Regions from separate parts of the Homo sapiens genome. Here regions 2, 3, 4, 5, 6 and 7 are each linked to region 1. Evidence: promoter capture Hi-C in 16 types of primary human blood cells and fetal thymus (Javierre and others, 2016). All regions are on one chromosome and are shown on one strand. The core of a region is centred on a gene start or on the middle of the fragment in contact, and the rest is flanking DNA. Distances in the headings are between cores, read along the strand shown.

Region 1 (2,722 bases), core at 140-2,639:
TCTGGACATGGACAATCTGAAACCCTTCTGGAAGATGAAAAGCTCATAAAGCACTATGTAGCAAATTATGAGGCCCATTAGAAAACGGAAGAACCCACCCACAAATGAGCTAAATAAAATCACTAGTTTTACTTATATTTTGTTATTTCTATCATTTCAAGTGAACATTCTCATATTTAACACATGTGATTTAAAATTCCAAAGCTGACGATATAAAATGTCAATATGTTACACTTAACTCCCCATCTTTTTTTTTTTTTTAATTTTCACATGCTTTAGGGGAAAAAAGCACACCTCTTATTGGAAAATGAAAGGAAGCTTGGAAAGAAACAAAACCATCCAAAGTATATAGTATATTTTAGCCCAATTAGTTAGATATGCTGAAGTTATGAAATGCTCAGCTCCCTTTTTAACCATTTGACATATTCGATATAAGCTTCCTCCCTTACCTTAAAAAAGCACCCCCTTTTCCAGTCTTTAAATTCACATTGCAGTATTTATATACAAATTTCATAGTTTGAATAACAATTTTTTAAAATTGCATACATTTATCAAAAAATAAAACAAATTTTCCCACTTCTCCAAGCACAACCTCCTAGCTAATTGCAGCCAATGAAAGTATTGATTATCACAAACTAAATTTCCTTTAGTCGTGGAGAGGAGCATTTCTCTATTTTATGACAATATCTACAGTTTTCTCTCAAATACGAATAGATTTTCTAAAAATCATCATGTGCCAGTGTAAGAAAATTAAACATCAAATTGCTAAACATCAGTATTAAAGAGCAAGATACTCTGGCTCAGAAACCATTTTCAATGAGGTTTTACTTAAATTGCCCAGCTCGCTCATGAAAATGTTCAGCCCTCCCAAATGACAACTTCCAAATAAAACACACTACATTTCCTCACCCCCTTTAATCATATTCCTTCAATTTTCTTTCTTCAACACAAAAGAAAATAAAACTATAACCGGGTCGGAAAAAGGCTTGGGGAAAGCCACAGACTGTTATATAATAATACAAACTTTTCCTCGGGGTTCTTTACGCTCTGCTCTAAATGTATCATTTCAGGGGCTGCCTGAAGCATTTGGAGGATGAGAGGAGAGCATTTATTTTCTTTTGGAGAGAAATCTCAACAGTATGGGCATAGCTGGCTCCTTTTATTCCTGCTTTTCATCGTCTTTGGCTAAACTGCCATGGAGACCTGGCCCCTTCTACCTTATTTCAGACACTTCAAAGACCAGGGACTCCTTGGCTAGATCTTGAAGAAATGCCTCAGGACACTGAGGCAGACCCACTCACCTGAGTTCCTGAAGATCAAGCAGGTAAGAATCACCATGTAAAATTCAGCCTCCATTTTCCACTTAGCAACTGTTCATGCTTCGCTTGGGGAAAAAAAAAATTCTCCCAGATAAGAGAAGCAAAGACTAGGAAGGAAATGTGCCTTCATGGTGGGGGGAAAAGTCAGTGACGAGCACTTCCTCCTATTGAATTGTTTGGGGAAGTTTTACACCAGTGTCCTTTTGTCTGTTTCCTTAGAAAGAAGGGATTATGATTACCTCTTTTTTTTAATGTAGAAAATATTCCAGCCTTCAAGAGCAGAGTAAATCTCGTTAAGACCTCACCTACCTTTCCTTTGGCATGTGACTGCTTCTTAACCTCAAGAAGAAAGAAAGGAATTGAAATCTCAGATAATTGAATGTTCCTGAAACATTACATCTCTTCAGGTGATGTGATTCTGCTGAATAAACATAAGCCATGTAATTGATGAGGGTCTATGACAAGTGATATAAAGACATAAACATGTACTGTTTGTATAATGATATGCTGCGAGTCTATTGAGGAAAACCACATAATGATGGCACTTCTAGATCATTATCTCCCAAGTGATGACAATATTACATTTTGAGATCGTCATCTTCACTGGGGAGATGCAGACACTAAAATTAAACCCATCACATTATCTACTTTGGTCTTCCCCAAACAGAGGATGGCGTCTTTCCAAATAGAAAAAAAAAAAAGAATATGCTTTACTCAGTATTTAGTATTAAGAGTTTATTGGCAGTATGAAACAAAGTCAACATTGCTGCATTAAAAATTCATATATGAGCAGAACAGCTAGTGTTTGCTGAGGGTAGTTATTTTAATTTTTTTTGTCTCTTGAAGATTGAAAGCTTTCAGAAATGTAAGGACATACATGGAAATGTCCTTATAAGGAGCCTCGAAAATGGGACAGATTATATCATTCCTGAAGGCATATACCTTTTGTTGAGAGAGAGATTCCAGGTAGATAGCATATTCAAAAATCCCTTCTTAGCAAAAGAGAGACAAGTAGTTAAAACTCTTGATACTTCAGAGTTGCTACAAATTTGTTTTTCCCTTTTAAAGTAAAATGACTCACGATGTGGAAATACAGTGGATAGAGTTCTGGAGCAGAAGCCACCTTTATGCCCAATAATAGAGAGTAAATACATATATACCCAATGACAATCATTGTGCTCTGTAATTGTTTGATAGGAGGGACTATAAATACACATTTAATAGGTAATATTATCAAGACACATTTCCATATAAAATAGTTACTGTTTTTGATTTTTGTTTTTCAAAAACAAAGACTTCTCTGTTAAAAATCCATTATCAATCACTTGCAACTTTAGCAGCAAGATTCTGGTAACTGAGAAAGGTAATAGCACTTCAAAACAGGAACAGTTTAACAGCTGACA
Region 2 (2,783 bases), core at 180-2,679, 800 kb before region 1:
GTTGTCAAGCACTTACTATGTGCTGAGTGCAGAATCATCCTTAGGAACATGGGTTCTGAGTTAGTCATCCTGGCTGTGATTCCTAGCTCTGCCACTGACTACCTGTGGGACTATGGATAGGTTCATAAGGCTCTGCAGGCCTTAATTTCCTTGCTTGTAAAATGGGGATAACCCTATTATCTCAAAATGTTGTGAAGCACTATGCCTGGCACAGAGAGACAGTAATTTTTAGTTCCTAGTATTCTCATTGTTTCTTAATTATTATTTTCTCCGTTTAGCATCAAGGCAGCCCTGGGGGATTTCTATCCTTGTATGAGAAACATGAGGCTGACAGAGGTTAGGTAACTTGCTTGCGGGTTATCCACATAGTAAGTGGCTGCAAGGTCATTTATTCCTTACCTTGTTTATTCAGTCAGTTGTCAAAGTCAAAATAAAAATGTAGAGATGAATCTCTAAATTTAATGTTTTATTTGGGAAGAAAGAATTGCAATTTGGAGCATACAGGCAGGCTAGGTTGTCTTTGGTATGCTTGAAGAATAAAGAGGAGGCTGGAGGTTTTATAGAAAGGAGAAATGTTATGTCTTGTTCTTTGAGGAAATTAATTGGCACTATTAAAGTTTAGGGAGCTGGCAAGTTTTGGTTGGTGAGTGACAGTGGTGGGTAAAACTAGTATTAAAAGTTGTAGCAGGTTGTTTCAGCAACGATTAGATATAAAACTGGTCTAAGTTTATATAGCAAGCAGTTTCAGCATCCAGGCTTGTAGAGAATTACATTTTTTGAGCAATGTTATATGCCCTGAGTGCTTTCTCCCCCTGGCCTCATGACTCTGTTTTAGTTGGCTATGACAAGAATGACCTAATTTGTGTGATCAACTTTCACACAATCAAAAAATATTTGACTGTCTCTCATGAGCCTGCTGCTCTCCTAAGAGCCAGGGACTCTGTGATGAATTAGCAGAATCCTTGCCTTATAGTGGCTTCTTCTCTAGATGAAGGGAGAAGACGATAGGAGATAAATAAAACAATGATTTCAAAATGTCATTAATTATGAAGAAAATAAAACCGGATGGTGGTGCAGAGAGTCTGATGAAGAGAGAGTTACTTGAGCTAAGACAATCAGGAATGGTTTCTGAGGGGATGACATTCAAGCTGAGACCTGAAGAATGACCAGAAGCAAGTCATGCATCTGTCTGGGAGAAGAACATTTTAGGTAAAAAGAGCAACTGTGCCGTCACTGAGCTTGAAGTGGTTGGGAGAGGGGTAGGAAAGGAACAGTGAGGTGGAAGCGCTTGAAGTGTGAGTGACAATGGGGAGGGTGGTAGAAAATGACATTAGAGTTTGGATTTTTATTCTCAGTGTGGAGAGTTTTAAGCAGGAGAACAGGCAGGGGCAGATGGGTGGGACGTGGGTGTGAGGAAGACAGAGGAATCTGTTTAGGATGATGCCTAGGTGTTGGTGTCAACAATTCATGGATGGTAGTACAATGTACTTAGATGTCGAAGACTGAGGAACAGGCTTGTGTGTGTGTGTGTGTGTGTGTGTGTGTGTGTGTGTGTGTGTAATTAAGAATTCATTTGGGACATTTTACGTTTGAGATCTCTTTTAGACAACCAAGTGGAAGCGATGAGGAGGCAGTTGGATTATTGAATTTGAAACCCAAGGAAGGATTAGAGCTGCTGTTGTCAATTTGGGAATCATCAGCTTAAAGAGTCATCAGTTTAAAGCCCCTGAGACTAAGTGAGATCACCAAGAAGAGTACAGATAGAGAAAAGGGTCCCAGATCACATTTTGGGATCCAAGTGAAAGTAACTAGTAAAGGAATGTTTAGTGAGGTAGGAGGGAAACCAGAAGAGTGTGGTTGTTAAACTAGGAAAGAAAGTGTTTCAAGAAGAATATGGTTAAACGTTTCAAATGTTTCTGAAATACAAGACAATTGCCTATAGAATCTGGGGAAAAGAAGGTTGTATGTGACCTTGAAAAAAGGATTTCGTGCAGTGGGGAAGGATGTCCAGTCAGTGGGTCGAAGACAGCAGCCTGTGATCAGTAAGAAAACCACTATCATTTAATGAAGGAAAACCACTGCCATTTAATGAATGCTTTACTTTATGTTGGATATTGTACTAAGACTTTATATTAATTCTTAATTTGCACAACACAATGAATGATAATGTTGTCAGTATTTTAGAGAGGAGGAAACAGATTCAGAGAAGGTATGTACTTTGCCCAAGGTAGCACAGCTATTAGGTATGTGAAGTGCTTAGATTTGGACAGAAGTCTGTCTGGCTCTGAAGGCTTGTGTCCCTATCCACTGTGCACATTGTCTTCTAATCAGGTCACAGGGAACATCTATAGAGATAGTTGTAGAACTCATGTCTCCTGTGAAGCAGAAGATAGGGCTTGCTTTTTTTTTTTTTTTTTTTCGGTACAATTTGCATGTAAAATTATTCCGGACTGCTAGCAGTTGGCACTTTACTGCCATCTGCCATTATTCCTTAGAAAATCCCAGCTCTAGCACAATAAGATGAGGTGTTAGTGGTAAAAAGGTAATGGTTTATGTTCATTGAGCAGGCAGCTCCAGAAACTCATAATGTAAGTCCACTAATAAGAGTACAAAGATATCAGAACACCATCACTGTTCTTTAGTCCTGCTCTGTGCATAACAAAAATATACAGAGGAAAGTTAGGCAGCAGGCTATGCTCAGAAGTGCAGTATAAATATTAACTCTTAATCTTGTAATTTTGGGTAATCTGACTCAGGACAAAAAGTCCAGCAAGATGGGACCC
Region 3 (2,737 bases), core at 40-2,539, 730 kb before region 1:
GATGATGATGACTATTCCTGGAAAGATAGCCATTTTTAGTTTTCTTCTTTATCATCCACCTAGTATAACTGATCACATTCTTAATTCCAGATAGATGCAATAGAGATTGGATGTTTCAAATCAGGGTATACAGAGCTCCTGCTAGCGGGGAGGCAGAGTGGTTAGGGAAGCCTCCCTGGCTCTCCTGGGCCCCGGAATTACTTGGATATGTCAGAATGTCCCACTCAATACAGGATTCTCTTATGAAAGACTTAGATAATATTCAGTTTGCCTTTGCTCTGAACACTAATGTGATCATCTATTCCTGCTACTGTTACTTTAATTGTAATATATTTATGTATTTTTCCAGGCCTCTAACCCTGGGCAGTTTGAAAATGACAGTGATGCATTGTGGCAGCGAGGACAAGTTCCAGAATCTATTGTCTGTCACGGTCGAGTAGGAATCAACACAGATGCGCCGGACGAAGCCCTGGTTGTCTGTGGCAACATGAAAGTGATGGGGACCATCATGCATCCCTCTGACAGCCGGGCAAAGCAGAATATCCAGGAGGTGAGCACAGATTCAGGCCCTGGGCCCCTCCTCTGACACCCCAGTCAGGTTTGCTGGGTGCTCCTGGCCTCTGACACACCTTGAACCGCACATCTTTACATGTCACCCACTGGTGTGAGATGAACACACTGCTTAAAAATGATGACTGAGCTGCTGGGCATCTCTGCTGAAATTGTAAAGCAGTTCCTCCCTGAGAGAATGGATTTACCTGACAGGAGCAGTGGGCAAAGACAGCATGTCATTGGCCTCACAGGCAGCAAGTCTCAGTTATTTTCCACAGGCCATTGCCCTTCCTTCCATACTTTGTCAGCTTCCAGAGCTTGCCTTTTCCTTTCTGTCTCCCCACTCATCTTCCAAGCACTGTCTCAGTCCAGTTCCTGATCATATTTCTCTTGGATGTCTCCAGCCTCTTCCTTCTAGAGTCCCTGGCACCAACTCTACTGGCCATTATCTTCCCCAGGCATCGTCTTTCTCTAGGAACTCTTGAGAAGCTCCTCCTCCTCATCCCTTACTTGGTCAGTTCATCGCCAAGAGTTCCGGGTGAAGACCTTTTTCCTCCGTGGAGAGGCAGTTACCTAGAGGAAACCAGAAGTCAGGCCTAGATGTCAGGAGATGGCTTCTCCGCTTTGGGCTCTCCCCAGTTACGTGACCCTGGATAAAAAGCTTAATCTCCTTGAACTCAGTGTCTTCAGCTATAAGATGAAAATGGTGCCTGCCTGCCTGCCTGACACCCTTGGCTCTTTTTTATTTTTTAACCAGTTGAACTGAATCATCTTGGAAAGCTACAACTGCTATGTAGACCATAAGGATGAGGATTAAGCTTCCAATCCATCAGCCAGCTACTAACACCTCATTCCAACTTTTCTGCCATTTAATTATTTCCCATGCATTGCTTCTACCACTTCCCCATCATCTCACTCATACTACTTCTCTTGACAGCATTTGTGAAGCTGTGTTTTAAAAGTTCCTTTTCTCTCCTTTCCTTATCCCTTTTTAGCTAATAGAAGTCCTAATCTGTTCACTATTAGCCCCTCTTCCAGACTGCATTCCTTTCTCAGTGCAAATCTGCACTGGTTTTCCTAAACCAGCCAAGGAATGTCCTCCTTTGCTTAGAGGATTCCAAAGAATGGTTGTAATTGTAGACTTTTATACTGATTGTGAAGCTGCGGTTCATATTAGAAGAGCTGTGACCTACTAGCCAGATGGGAATGCAGAGCTAGAGAGTTCTTACATACATTTCCAGATGTCAGTCCTAGATATTGTGACTTTGAACTTTAGAGAGAGATCATCTGTCTGCATTTCAGGTCACACCAACTCAAATTTATCCTTGCAATTGGCTATACAATTCACTACCAAGTCTTACTAAAATGTAAATTGAATATAACAAGTGAGAAAAGTCCTGTACAACCCTTCCTGCTACCACCAGGCATAACACAGAACTTCATTTACAAAAAGTCTTCAAATATTGCTTGTTGGTTTGAAGAAAATATATTGTCTTAAAATAACAAGCTTCTGGAGAACTTCTCACATCCCTTCTAAAAAGCCTTCTCCATCTAAATGAAATGTCACTTCAATCCAGGCTCTAAATGTGAAATTTCTGTATCCCCTTCCTGCTCATGGCAGCATGATAGAATAAAGAAAATCCTGGTCCGTGGTTAGAAGTCTAAGAGTTTAGTCCTGACTCTGGCAACCACCAGCCCAGGAACTTTGGCCGAGAGGCGATCTGTGACTCTGTTTTGTTGTCTGTGAACAGGAAATGCTCATATTCATTTTACCCAGGTTAAGAGATTTTTCTAAACTCATATATGTAAGGTATTTTTTAGCCAGACAAGTCTAAGCAAAGAGAAATTATTTTCTATTTATACAAAATAAAAATTACATGTAATTTATTTATTAAATGATTTCATATTAATAGATTTGTTTTGATAAATCTGTGCACATTTTTGAGATATATATTTGTAGAAATCTTGTCTGTCCCAGTCCACTGTTTATTACAGAGATGAGGGAGATGATGGTAATGTTGATGATGCTGATGACAGATGTGTGAATTTCATCTTCACCTCTTCCTGACTTAGTTTTTGCAACTTTTAAAAAGAGAGCCTTTCTTTCATATACTCTGGGGATCTGACCCTTGGTCAATTTGATGGCATGCATAGGACTGGAAGCAATTTCTTATTCTTTAAGAGT
Region 4 (2,703 bases), core at 113-2,612, 710 kb before region 1:
TACTCTATCATTTCTTCTTCATTTATTCTCTGGAATTTATTATCTGGAATACTTTTTAAATGAACTTTCAAATATGTAGATGTTATATAGGACAGGCAGGACAAAGTTTTATTCTTTTATTTACAAGATTTAAAAAAAATGAGTTAAGCCCTTAATGTCTCCCAAAGGTAAATAATAAACTATTTTTAAAAATTGAATAGGATTTTGGATGCTTTTAAAGCACATTTGATTCTTTGTTCTATCATGGTAATTAGCCCTTTAATGTTCTATCTTTGGCCAATGAGAGCTTCTTCAGTTAGCTCCTGAGTCATTTTGACCCAACCACAGTACTCTGTGATAGCTTCCTTATTTTCTCATATTGAAAGATGTTCCAGGTTCACCTCAGACATATCTTACCCCAAATCTGGAAAAGTACTCAAAATCTGGGTCCTTTCACTGGGAATGGTATTTAGAGACTACAATGAGGAGTCTTCATGGTTAGTAGGTGGGAAGTTTTTTTCCAGTCCTTTTTAGTTAATGTAGCTAGAAAATGTCTTTTTCTTTTAAGAAATAAAATATATCAGAAATTAATAGTAATATTTCTAACTTAAATTTAGATTTGCTAGGGTTTTACTAAATGTTTTAATTTTATGTTTATATCTCTTTTCTTAAATGCTAAAAATCTTGGTTTATAGCACTATTAACTATGTATTTGTTTTATCCAAATATATATGTGTGCTATCTATGTGTGTATAATCCATCACTATTATTACTAACAGTATGATTATTGAAAAGCTTAAGATTCCCTTGCTGGTTGATTTTTTTTTTAAATTTTTATTTTTTGTCTTTAGGCTCTATCTCTCTGGGAATGGGCAGTCAAATTACTATGTTTTGAAGTCACTTAATGTCAATCTTCACTGTAAGGTTAAACCAGAAACTCAATACCCAATTAGGCTTATTTGTTTTATTTTGCCTTCTGTTTCTAGGGGATGTTTTTAAAAATTTTGTTTATTTTTTATACATATTTAAAATACCTACATATGGGCCAGGCGCAGTGGCTCATGCCTGTAATCCCAGCACTCTGGGATACCAAGGAGGGTGGATCACGAGGTCAGGAGATCAAGACCATCCTGGCTAACACAGTGAAACCCCGTCTCTACTAAAAATACAAAAAATTAGCCGGGCGTGGTGGTGGGCACCTGTAGTCCCAGCTACTCAGGAGGCTGAGGCAAGAGAATGGTGTGAACCCGGGAGGCAGAGCTTGCAGTGAGCCGAGATCATGCCACTGCACTCCAGCCTGGGTGACACAGCAGGACTCCGTCTCAGAAAAAAAAAAAAAAAAAAAAAAATCGTAAAATACCCACATATTCTAAAGGTTAATTTATAAAAACAGGATACATTCAGAGAATCTGGGTTCTATCCATTTCACCCATCTTGTTTCTTCCTTTCCATTATGTGTAACAATTTTAAGTTAGTTTTTGTTTATTCTTCATTTTATTAATGTAAGAAAATGTAGACATGTTTTGTATTCTTCTTATACTACAGACTTTGCTCCATAACAGTATATAGAGATATTCTTCCTTTCTTTTTACAGTTGCATAGTATACTGCTATGCAAATGTACCACAGTTTATTATCAATTCCCCTATTAATGGACATTTTGTTTGATTGTGGTCTCTTTTATTTCTTAATTTTCTCCAGGAGATCTGTGGAATAGACTCCTAGAAGTGGGTGTACTGGCTCAAAAATAAAAATATATGTAATTTTGCTAGATATTGCTAAATTCTACTCCAGATGGTTTTATCAATTTGTTATTTGGATGGATTTTGAAGGATGTATGGTAAGACTTCAGGAAAAATATAGGGTTTTCTGATGACATTTGAAAAGCTGATACAAGTATGATTTTTTTTGTTGTTGGATTTTTTGTGTTTTTTTGGTAAGTTTTCTTGAAGCAAACATAGGCCTCAGAAATCAAGCTTTTGGTCATTTTACATCCCAAATACAAAGGTTTTCTGCTTCTCTAAGCTGCTAACTCATAGCACTTTTCAATTCACTTGTGTCCATTCTTACTGAGCATTTCCAGTGGGCAAAGGCATGTGCTAAATGCTGGTGAGATATGCAAATAAATCAACATAATTCTGCCTGCCACAAACTCATGATCCAGGTGGGAGACAGACATATAACACCTGATACAAGGCAAATGGCCAGGTGATAGAATTGAACATGCTTTGAGGACACTGTAGAGTGAGGGATGCTCTCTGACTAGTGGTCTCTGGGGAGATACTGGGTATGATGGGATTTGGACTGGCCTTGAGGAAAGGCATTTTTATCTTAGGTAATTATGGGAATGAGGTCTCAGACACTGGAGAGTGCAGGGTGTTCAGGGGGCCTCAACAGATCTGTGTGGCTGCTCTGGGAGTTTCAGAGAGTTCTCCAGTGTATCATGAGATACATCTGTCTTTGAACTGCGTACACTAAGCCTTGAATCTGGAATGTTCAGCTTTTGATTCTTTCTGAGTGATTGCTCTACAGTGTTCGAAACCCTCAAAGCTTCAGTTTGGATGATAAGAATCTCAAAGGCACATAGCCCTGAGTTTGACCCTCAACCACAAAACAGTCTCTATTGCCCTTGAACTCAGCCTTGGACCAGCCTCTCTGCAATTCAGAAAGTGCTGTGGGATTTTGAACTTGCAAACAGAGAGAAAGATAGGAGGAGAGGTCATGG
Region 5 (2,700 bases), core at 100-2,599, 770 kb before region 1:
CGGGCATGAGCCACCGCGCCAGACCAAACCTCAGTTTCATTGCCTGAGGATTAAGTACAATGATGGTACCTTTTCATATGAGAGTTGTGGAGGTTAAATGAGACACACATGCAAAGGGTTAGCATGGTGCCTGGCTCAGAGTAGGTTCTCAAAAAAGTTTCTCTACATCTAAAGCAGCAGCGGAGGGGTGTGAAAGGGTCAGATCCTTGCAGTCTGCCAGCACAGAGCTGGAGGGGAGGAGTGGCATCTTCTTTGCCTTGTTTTTTGCTGCCATATCATGAAATGGTTTTCTTGGGCAACCATACTCATTGACAACATTTCTGCCAAAACCCTTTCCTGTATCAACTTCTAGATGGTGGTTACAAGCCCTAACTGACCTTGATCAAGTATTTATTGAGTGCCTGTCACAGTCTCCCCATTGGAGCACTATGGAGTGCACATGTACACACACATGCACAGCATGCACACATGTGCACACACACGCGCACACACATGCACTCACACACACGTACGCACACGCGCACACACACATGTACTCACACGTACACACAGATATGCACTCACACATGCCCACATGTGCGTGCACACATGCACTCACACATGCACACACACATGCACACACATACACTCACACACAGAGTAGGAAGACATATTCTTAATGTGAAAGTTCATGCGGAAAGATAAATCATATACATGAAAAATTGGAGGAAATACTTTAAATAACAACCATTTTTATAGTTGGAGGATGGGGTAAAACAGTGAACAAAACAGATATAATCCCTGCCAGTAGCTCCCCAAGGGCAGTGTGGTGGGTACAGTCTGCCCTGGCAGGGCACCCAGGCATTTTTCTTAGAATTGGTGATGCATGGTGATAATAAAAAGCAGACTGACTCTTTGTAGGCTTAGTATTGTTTTCAAATTGTCTACAGACAATGCATTTCCTTATTGCCTGCACCTGGGGTGAGCAATTCCCATCCCCTCATCCTTGGCACACCATTACTGTCATGCCACTCCGGTGGGAAGAAAAAGACAATGGCAGGTAGTCTAAAGTCACTCAGTAAGATGAAGACAAATAAGAGTAAGGCAAGGAGGAGAGGCTACCATTTTAGATTGGGTGGTCAGGAAAGCTCTCTCCTGATATATGGATTTATATATACGGCATATTCATGGTCATATGTAGTTTAACACAGTCTTTCGTATTTGTTATGCACCAACTCTGTATTGGGCACTGTGCTGAGCCGAGCTCAGTGTGAGGTGCAATAGAGCTTTAGAGAAGGGGCGGTTGGTGTTGTATGAAGGCACCGAGGGATTCATTGGAGAAAACTAGGATTGGATGGCTCAATTGTGAGTATCCCACCTAGATATTCACATGAAGACACACTGTGTATGTGTCTTGCCTAATGTCTGGTAGAGTCATGAGCACAGTAGGCACTCAGTAAAGACTTAGTAAGCCTGGTTGCAATATGAAAGAAATACTGGCTGCATTGAGGGCAGCATATATGTCATGGATGTACATATCACCTCAACTAGCTGGAGGGCAAAGTCTATTTTGTACGCCCTCTTTTGGTTCACATAGATTCAACCCCTGGGAGATTGTTTCTCCGTTCATCCTCCAAAAGACAAAAAACAAGTTGTATGTCTGAGAGGAAGGAGTTTAGAAGGCAAATTATTTTATTTTTATCAGCTGCTAAGAATCTCTTGATTTTTCTTCCTTTTTTTTTTTTTTTTTTTTTTTTTTTGGGACAGAGTCTCACTCTGTTGCCCAGGCTGGAGGGCAGTGTTGAGATCTCGGCTCACTGCAACCTCTGCCTCCTGGGTTCAAGCAAGCACGTCTGGCTAATTTTTTTTTTTTTTTTTTTTTGGTATCTTTAGTGAAGACAGGGTTTTGCCATGTTGGCCAGGCTGGTCTTAAACTCCTGACCTCAGGTGATCCACCCGCCTCGGCCTCCCGAATCTCTTGATTTTTACAACTCTTTCCTGCTGAAGCTAGAGACAGGGTTGGCCGCTCAGGGTATGACCCATAGTGTCTGTTGCTCTCTGGTGTTTGTCTGCTTTATGGAAATCCTTTTGGTATAATAGACAAGTTTGGCGCACAAAGACTGAAACACAGTCTGATGTGCATTTCTGGGATTCTTGACATGACGATTGTGAGTAAAAGGGGCTAAGAAGTGAAGAAAAAATACCAAACAAGTGTTTTACTAGGAGCTAATCATTGCTCTTGTTTTAACAATTTGGTCAGTTTGAAGGTAGCTATCATTAATTCTCCCTTCAAATTCTCTGAAAAGAAGTGCAAAATTTCTCTAACTGTATTTAAATGCATTGAGCATGGAAGCATATAAAATACAATGAAATAAAGGAGTAGCTGTGGTGAATTTTGGAAGGGGAAGGAACTCTAAAGACAGCATTTAATATTTTAAAATCTTCATCTTAAAACCACCAACACATATTCCTGTCACTCAACGCAGGGACTTTTGGTTCTCGTTAAGGGACTGCTGGATGGAGACTGCATTCCTGTTTACAATATGCCAAGCCATATTTTTTTTAGTAGATTGATCATTTAATTGTGATTTTCAGTTTTTATTACATTATTGAATTCAATGATGCCTGTAGTGTCAGGGTAACTAAACAACTGCCTAGAGCCTTAAATGTGGAATTATGAGATCACAGAGTCAGTTACAAAATTTAATTTATAGACCTAGA
Region 6 (2,700 bases), core at 5-2,504, 750 kb before region 1:
TTCAAACCTCATGGAGAAGAGTGAGCATCCCTGAAGTGCTGAGATCCACTCTGCTTGAATTGGGATAGGCCACATGTCCACCACTGATGCAATTACTGATGCAAGGACTGAATGCTGTACTTTGGTTGATTGAGCTGGGTCACCTATCCTCCCGGCTCTGGGAATGAACTTCACTGCAACCACACAGACTGAAAGTGAGGAGAAGCTATGCAGGATGTAGGGTAGATAGATATCAGGGACAAAGTTTCCAACAGGTGTTTACCCCCCACCCTTTGACAACGCTGACCCCAGGCTGCTCCTTTCACAGATGAGAAAATGAGGTCAGCAACACACCTCCTACCCCCAGCACATGACACTTCCCTAGTCACTCTGCCTTACACATGGCCCACTCATCAGCTTCATGCTGCTAGCTGTGAGTTTAGGAAAAACAGCCTGGAAGGAAGGCTCTGACGCACCTGTTTCTTTGCAGTGACAAGTAGGAGTCGCAGCAGTGAAGTCCAGGACCCTGACAGTGAGGGACAGAACAGAATGCCTACAGACCAGTGCTCTCCTGCTCTGAAGTGGCAACCATGCCATAGTGTTCCTTGGCACAGCTTATTAAACAGTCATTATGAAAAACTGTAAGTGGCTTGAGTGGGCTGGAGAGTGAGGGGAGAAAGACAGTGCTAAATCTCAGTACTGAGTTCAAGCACTGGAGCTTTGATGTCACCTCTGGTCAAGTGGGGCAAATCAGTGAGAAAGTGTCTGTCTTACTCCTCATTTTTTACATCCTAACAAATAAATAGTTGGAATATGGGTTTCTGGCCTTCAGAAAGCCAGACTTATAGTTCCACCTGATTATAATTTAACCACTAAATGATGGAGAAAGAAGGAATCTTTCTGGGATCACATGCCCAGTTTAAACTAAAAACTGGAATATAAACATTCCCCAAATCACTAACACTTAATCCTGCAGTTAACTTATAATGCCATAAAATACTTTTCTGGGGGCCACATTAAATTGTGAGCCAATGACCACCCCCCACGTATATGCTGTGAATGAATATTACCAAGTTCACTGACAATATATCCTGCAGCAATCGTGGTAGATGGTTTCTTTATGTTAAGGAGTCTGAAGTCAAATCATACAAAACATCCTAAAAAAGTGGAAAAGCTTCACCCAATTTTTATGACATAAGATAGTTTCAAGAAATAAATGTGCAATCCTATATTATTACTCTTAAACATCCTTTAGACTTCTTTATTTCTTAGCATGTAATTTACCTACTTAAGCCTTCTAGAATTTTCATTGGGCTATAACTTAAGTTAAAATTTTCCAAATTCAAATTTTAAAATTTTCCAAATTCAAATACTGTAAAGCTTATCACTAGGACTTTCATGGTGGATGTACTAGAGGGAAGAAATATTTTCCTTAAAAGAAAATCTAGGGAGTTAAACAGACTTTGGGAGTTGGTGTGTTTAATAAGCTAAAGGAAGCTCATTGCTCATTGTATCATTGAAATGTCATGACTTTGTGTCTTTTCTACTGTGTGCAATTAGAAAAAGAAATGAGGGGTCCATGGGTTTTGGCTTTGAGGCTTGGCCTTCCTTAGATTATCTTTTGGGGAACATTCCATGTTTTGTAAGAAATATGAGCACCGAGGTATGAAACTGTCACACGCAGGCTCAATGCTTTAATTAAAACTTAACTGCTTCCCAGGCTCTATGCATCAAGTTGATCAAGTTTTCAAGGTAAGTGTTATCCCTCTTCTTATTTGAAAACATTTTTAAGTTTGTTTGAACAGCCTATCTTGGCTCCAATAATCTAGAAAAATATGGAGAACACAGAGTATATGGAAACAAAGGAGAACACAGATGGTATCAACTCAAAAGTAATGAGGCAGATTTATGTTGAGTATTTAGCCATAATTCACTTTTCCTAAGCAAAAAAGGAAGGCAATATTTACCCAGTTTAGAATTCAGGCCCTCCTAATTTCACTATTTATATCAATGAGACAGAAAAACACCCATCTTTTCTTATATAGTTAGGTCTAATTTGTTACAAAAATATCATTTTCTTAAGTAACCTAAAAACAGTTCAGTTAGGGCATTAAAATTTTATCAATTTTTTTCTGAATTATGTTTCAATGCTATCAAAGAACTTTTAAAAAGCCAGTTTAATTGACTTTATACTTAACTTTTGATATCAGAAGCAGAATCGCCATTCTTAGGTAAGCAGATTTCTATAATCAGAGATTGGTGTTTAAGGTTCAGAATAATCATCAACAGTATAACTCTTACTGATTGATTCCGTTTCTGATTATTGCTGCCCTAAATTTCAGCCTAACGCTCATATCTTAGCTGTACTTTTTTTCTTCAGAGTTTTTGACAGTGAAGCATAAAACATCACCAAAAATGTTTTATTCTCAACTAAGACGGTTCTTATTACCCTCTGTAGTAAAATCTACATAATTCTACCCATCTAGCCTTTAGATGAACAAATTAGCAGATTAATTCTAGAAACTTGAGTCAATAAGCAGTTTCCAGATGGCATAAGATGTGTAGTCTTTATCAAATTCTTCATTCAGTGGATTTTCTTTTTGCTGCTGGTAGGCACTGTGATTGTGGAGCCTTTGACTGATTGGCTTCTTAAGGGTAGTCAATGACTCAGTAACTTGATCCATTGGGAAGGTGCAAAGAACATGAACACTCTTCTCCCAA
Region 7 (2,700 bases), core at 196-2,695, 820 kb before region 1:
ATGAATCAAAGTCCCTGCCCTCAAGAGGTTGATAGCCTAATCCCAGCCAGAAAGCCCTCATATAAAATTTTAGCTTTTGTCATATGCAAATAGAAAGGATCATGTGAAATTCAGTGAACTTGTTACATGATTGTTAAGATTCAGTATTTTTATAAGGTGGCTTATTCCTTTGTACTTCTCCCTAGGTCCCACATTAAATGCATATAGAGCAACCAACCAACCAAATAAACAAATACCCCATCTGGAAACTATTACCCTGCAAGCTATCAATAACATGCTTTGAGACTTGAACAGTCATCATGAGGATATTTTCAGCTGAGAAGCTGAAATCCTGATGGAAAGCTGAGAGCTGTCCTGCAGCTGATTACTGATTTGTAAATTTGTTCCAAGATGGGACATACATGGAAAACACCTAGTTTCTGTTTCTAGAATCATGGTTAATGTTATGGCATTAAACTTATACTACTAATAGAATGTAAGTCTCACAAGGGCAGAGACTTTGTCCTTTTCATCACTTTAGCCCAGCATCTAGAACGGTGCCTGGTACACAGTAGGTTCTCAAATATTTGTTATCTAACTGAATGAATAGGCAACTTGTACAGAAGGTAGGGGCAAATGCTTTTCATTTCAAAAAACTGAAATTTATCATTATTTCACAGAAAATGTGCTCTCACTGGCCAGAGTAAGTCCTGTAAACACAGAATTAAATTAGGGGACTCAAGCAACTATTATTATATTTCTCCTTTTTGCAGATACAGGGTAAGTGACTTAACCATGAATTTTAATAAAGCTTGCTTTGATATGGGACATTTGACCATTCATGACATTTTCTCCATTTGGCCTAGATCACTTCTGTATGTAACTTTTTTACATACATTCGATACATTCAGCAGGGACTCGTGAAACAGCAGGATGGTGAGTGTTCTTGATTCAATATAAGTCTTTACATAAAAGTTCAGCAAAAAGTATAAGTAAAGTTCAACAAAAAGTATAGAATAGTAGTAATGCTCATATCAGCTTTATTGTTGGTACATTTATATTGAATCCCTTCTATAGTTCTAATAAAATTTGTGGAGAATTTGGGAACAAATGTCTTTTAGAAAAATATTGTGTTTAATTATTTTATTTGCCTCATTTTACTCTTAATTTTGAATTTTAAGCAGGGTCAGTTTTAACTCATAAGGGGTATATGATAAACCAGATGGTAAATGAGAAGAGAGTTCTAAGCTCATTGAATTGACTCTTTAAGAGATGAAAATGAGTAGGCCAGCAAAGTGGTCAGATTTATTTTAATTGATGGAAACCATCATGGAGCTCAAAATTAAGTTTTCCCTGTATTTTCTACTTTTTGCGTGTGAATTAATAAAGCAGTCATGAGGATAATTCTGAATGGAATAAAGATTGCCATATTCTAAATCAGCAGAAATGTGCAGGTGATATATCCAGGAGAACCAACCTCATGAAAGTGTGTTAATATTTTTAATACAATTTTATAGCTAAATATCTTAAATATCAGGCATGAAAACTAATATGGCCTGACAGCTCCAAAGCAGTATCTCTCGAGCACAAATGATAGTTTAAAAAAAAAAATAGCAGATACTAGGCTAGGGACAAGTCTGTGCCAGTTAGTATTTAAAGTTTTACAAAATTTCCCTGTTTATATTTTTTAGGCACTGAAAATATTATCTTGCTTAAACACTGGTAGAAGCCTACCATCTTTCAATCATGTAAAGCAGTGAATCTTAATTCTATGGAGAAGTTAGTCACGCTGATAAAAACTTAGTTTAGCCTTTCTCAAGGTCTGGTATGTTGAAAAATGTCATATTTCTTTAAAATCCCATATAGTTGGATTTTAATGCCTAAAACATTAGAGATAAAACCTGTTAACCTAATAACCTGATAACCTAATTAATGTTGAATTTCAAAAGGCCTAATAACATAAAAACAGTCTTTAAACTGTGTAATACTTTTTTTGACTTTAATAAAACTGAATTCTTTTTGAATACCTGTTGATGGATAATATAATTTAAGCCAGAGAACAGAAAATTTATGTTAAGTATAATTGCCAAGAATATAATATTTTTCTGTTTGTTTAAATAAGAAGCTTGGAAAGACAGAAAGATAATTTACTTTATGAAAATAGGAAGAAAGTGTTACGAGTAATGAATGGTGAGGGTGTTGATAATAAAAGTAGTATATCTTCTCTGGTTTCTGTCACTCTTCCACTTTATGATATTTAGTACATATCATTTAGTATGTGTGTTTGTTGTAAACAGGTATTAGTCTTAAAATCTGTTTATTATATGTGCCTTGTGCCAACAAAGGATTTAGGGCAGCTAAATCTAAAGCAGAATTTCTCGACCTTGGTACTAGTGACATTTTGAGCTGGATAATTCTTTGTTGTGGGGGACGGTCTTGTGCATTTGTAAGATGTTTAATAGCATCCCTAGCTTTTACTCATTAGATACCTGTAGCACCCCCGAGATGGGACAGTGAAAAATGTTTCTATTCATTGCCAAACGTACCCTGGAGTGGCCAGGGAATGAGGAGTGGTGGTGGTGGTAGTGGTGGAATCTTCCCTGATTGAGAACCATTGATCTAAATGAATATAATCTGATCATATATCAAACGAAGACCTTTTATTGTCTGAAATAAGGAGCCAACGTTTTTCCACTTACAGTGGGAACTTACAAAAGTATA

The links. Contacts are between HindIII fragments. The CHiCAGO score rates a contact against its expected background, and 5 or more counts as called.
Region 2: a contact is called between a fragment that was not itself captured here and the fragment with the promoter of PTPRB in region 1, in 3 of 17 cell types (non-activated CD4 T cells, M1 macrophages and M2 macrophages). The highest score is 5.4, in non-activated CD4 T cells.
Region 3: a fragment that was not itself captured here is called in contact with the fragment with the promoter of PTPRB in region 1 in 11 of 17 cell types (fetal thymus, activated CD4 T cells, naive CD4 T cells and 8 more); the score reaches 9.8 in fetal thymus.
Region 4: a fragment that was not itself captured here is called in contact with the fragment with the promoter of PTPRB in region 1 in 4 of 17 cell types (total B cells, naive CD8 T cells, activated CD4 T cells and 1 more); the score reaches 9.9 in total B cells.
Region 5: a fragment that was not itself captured here is called in contact with the fragment with the promoter of PTPRB in region 1 in 4 of 17 cell types (total B cells, M2 macrophages, M1 macrophages and 1 more); the score reaches 6.1 in total B cells.
Region 6: a contact is called between a fragment that was not itself captured here and the fragment with the promoter of PTPRB in region 1, in 11 of 17 cell types (fetal thymus, total B cells, total CD8 T cells and 8 more). The highest score is 10.7, in fetal thymus.
Region 7: a fragment that was not itself captured here is called in contact with the fragment with the promoter of PTPRB in region 1 in 5 of 17 cell types (M0 macrophages, naive B cells, non-activated CD4 T cells and 2 more); the score reaches 6.1 in M0 macrophages.

What each region holds. Positions count from the first base shown.
Region 1 is chr12:70,636,040-70,638,761 of GRCh38, forward strand. It overlaps PTPRB (protein tyrosine phosphatase receptor type B), which reads right to left and starts at 1,390. Exons shown (of 34, transcript NM_001109754.4): 1 at 1,302-1,390; 2 at 1-27. The coding sequence starts at 1,356. It overlaps PTPRR (protein tyrosine phosphatase receptor type R), which reads right to left. Exons shown (of 14, transcript NM_002849.4): 14 at 2,040-2,722. The HindIII fragment of the contact is 1,737 bases long and covers 435-2,171 here.
Region 2 is chr12:69,831,429-69,834,211 of GRCh38, forward strand. The region is part of intron 1 of MYRFL (myelin regulatory factor like); the gene reads left to right. Among named protein-coding and RNA genes, the nearest start is that of MYRFL, 7.6 kb to the left of the region's middle. The HindIII fragment of the contact is 5,618 bases long and covers 1-2,783 here.
Region 3 is chr12:69,903,295-69,906,031 of GRCh38, forward strand. It overlaps MYRFL (myelin regulatory factor like), which reads left to right. Exons shown (of 25, transcript NM_182530.3): 11 at 350-550. Among named protein-coding and RNA genes, the nearest start is that of MYRFL, 79 kb to the left of the region's middle. The HindIII fragment of the contact is 157 bases long and covers 1,212-1,368 here.
Region 4 is chr12:69,922,886-69,925,588 of GRCh38, forward strand. The region is part of intron 13 of MYRFL (myelin regulatory factor like); the gene reads left to right. Among named protein-coding and RNA genes, the nearest start is that of MYRFL, 99 kb to the left of the region's middle. The HindIII fragment of the contact is 1,180 bases long and covers 773-1,952 here.
Region 5 is chr12:69,868,388-69,871,087 of GRCh38, forward strand. All of the region lies in intron 2 of MYRFL (myelin regulatory factor like), which reads left to right. Among named protein-coding and RNA genes, the nearest start is that of MYRFL, 45 kb to the left of the region's middle. The HindIII fragment of the contact is 7,246 bases long and covers 1-2,700 here.
Region 6 is chr12:69,886,351-69,889,050 of GRCh38, forward strand. It overlaps MYRFL (myelin regulatory factor like), which reads left to right. Exons shown (of 25, transcript NM_182530.3): 6 at 470-620. Among named protein-coding and RNA genes, the nearest start is that of MYRFL, 62 kb to the left of the region's middle. The HindIII fragment of the contact is 206 bases long and covers 1,152-1,357 here.
Region 7 is chr12:69,812,119-69,814,818 of GRCh38, forward strand. RAB3IP (RAB3A interacting protein) reads left to right here. Exons shown (of 11, transcript NM_022456.5): 9 at 660-759; 10 at 846-915. Among named protein-coding and RNA genes, the nearest start is that of MYRFL, 12 kb to the right of the region's middle. The HindIII fragment of the contact is 1,314 bases long and covers 789-2,102 here.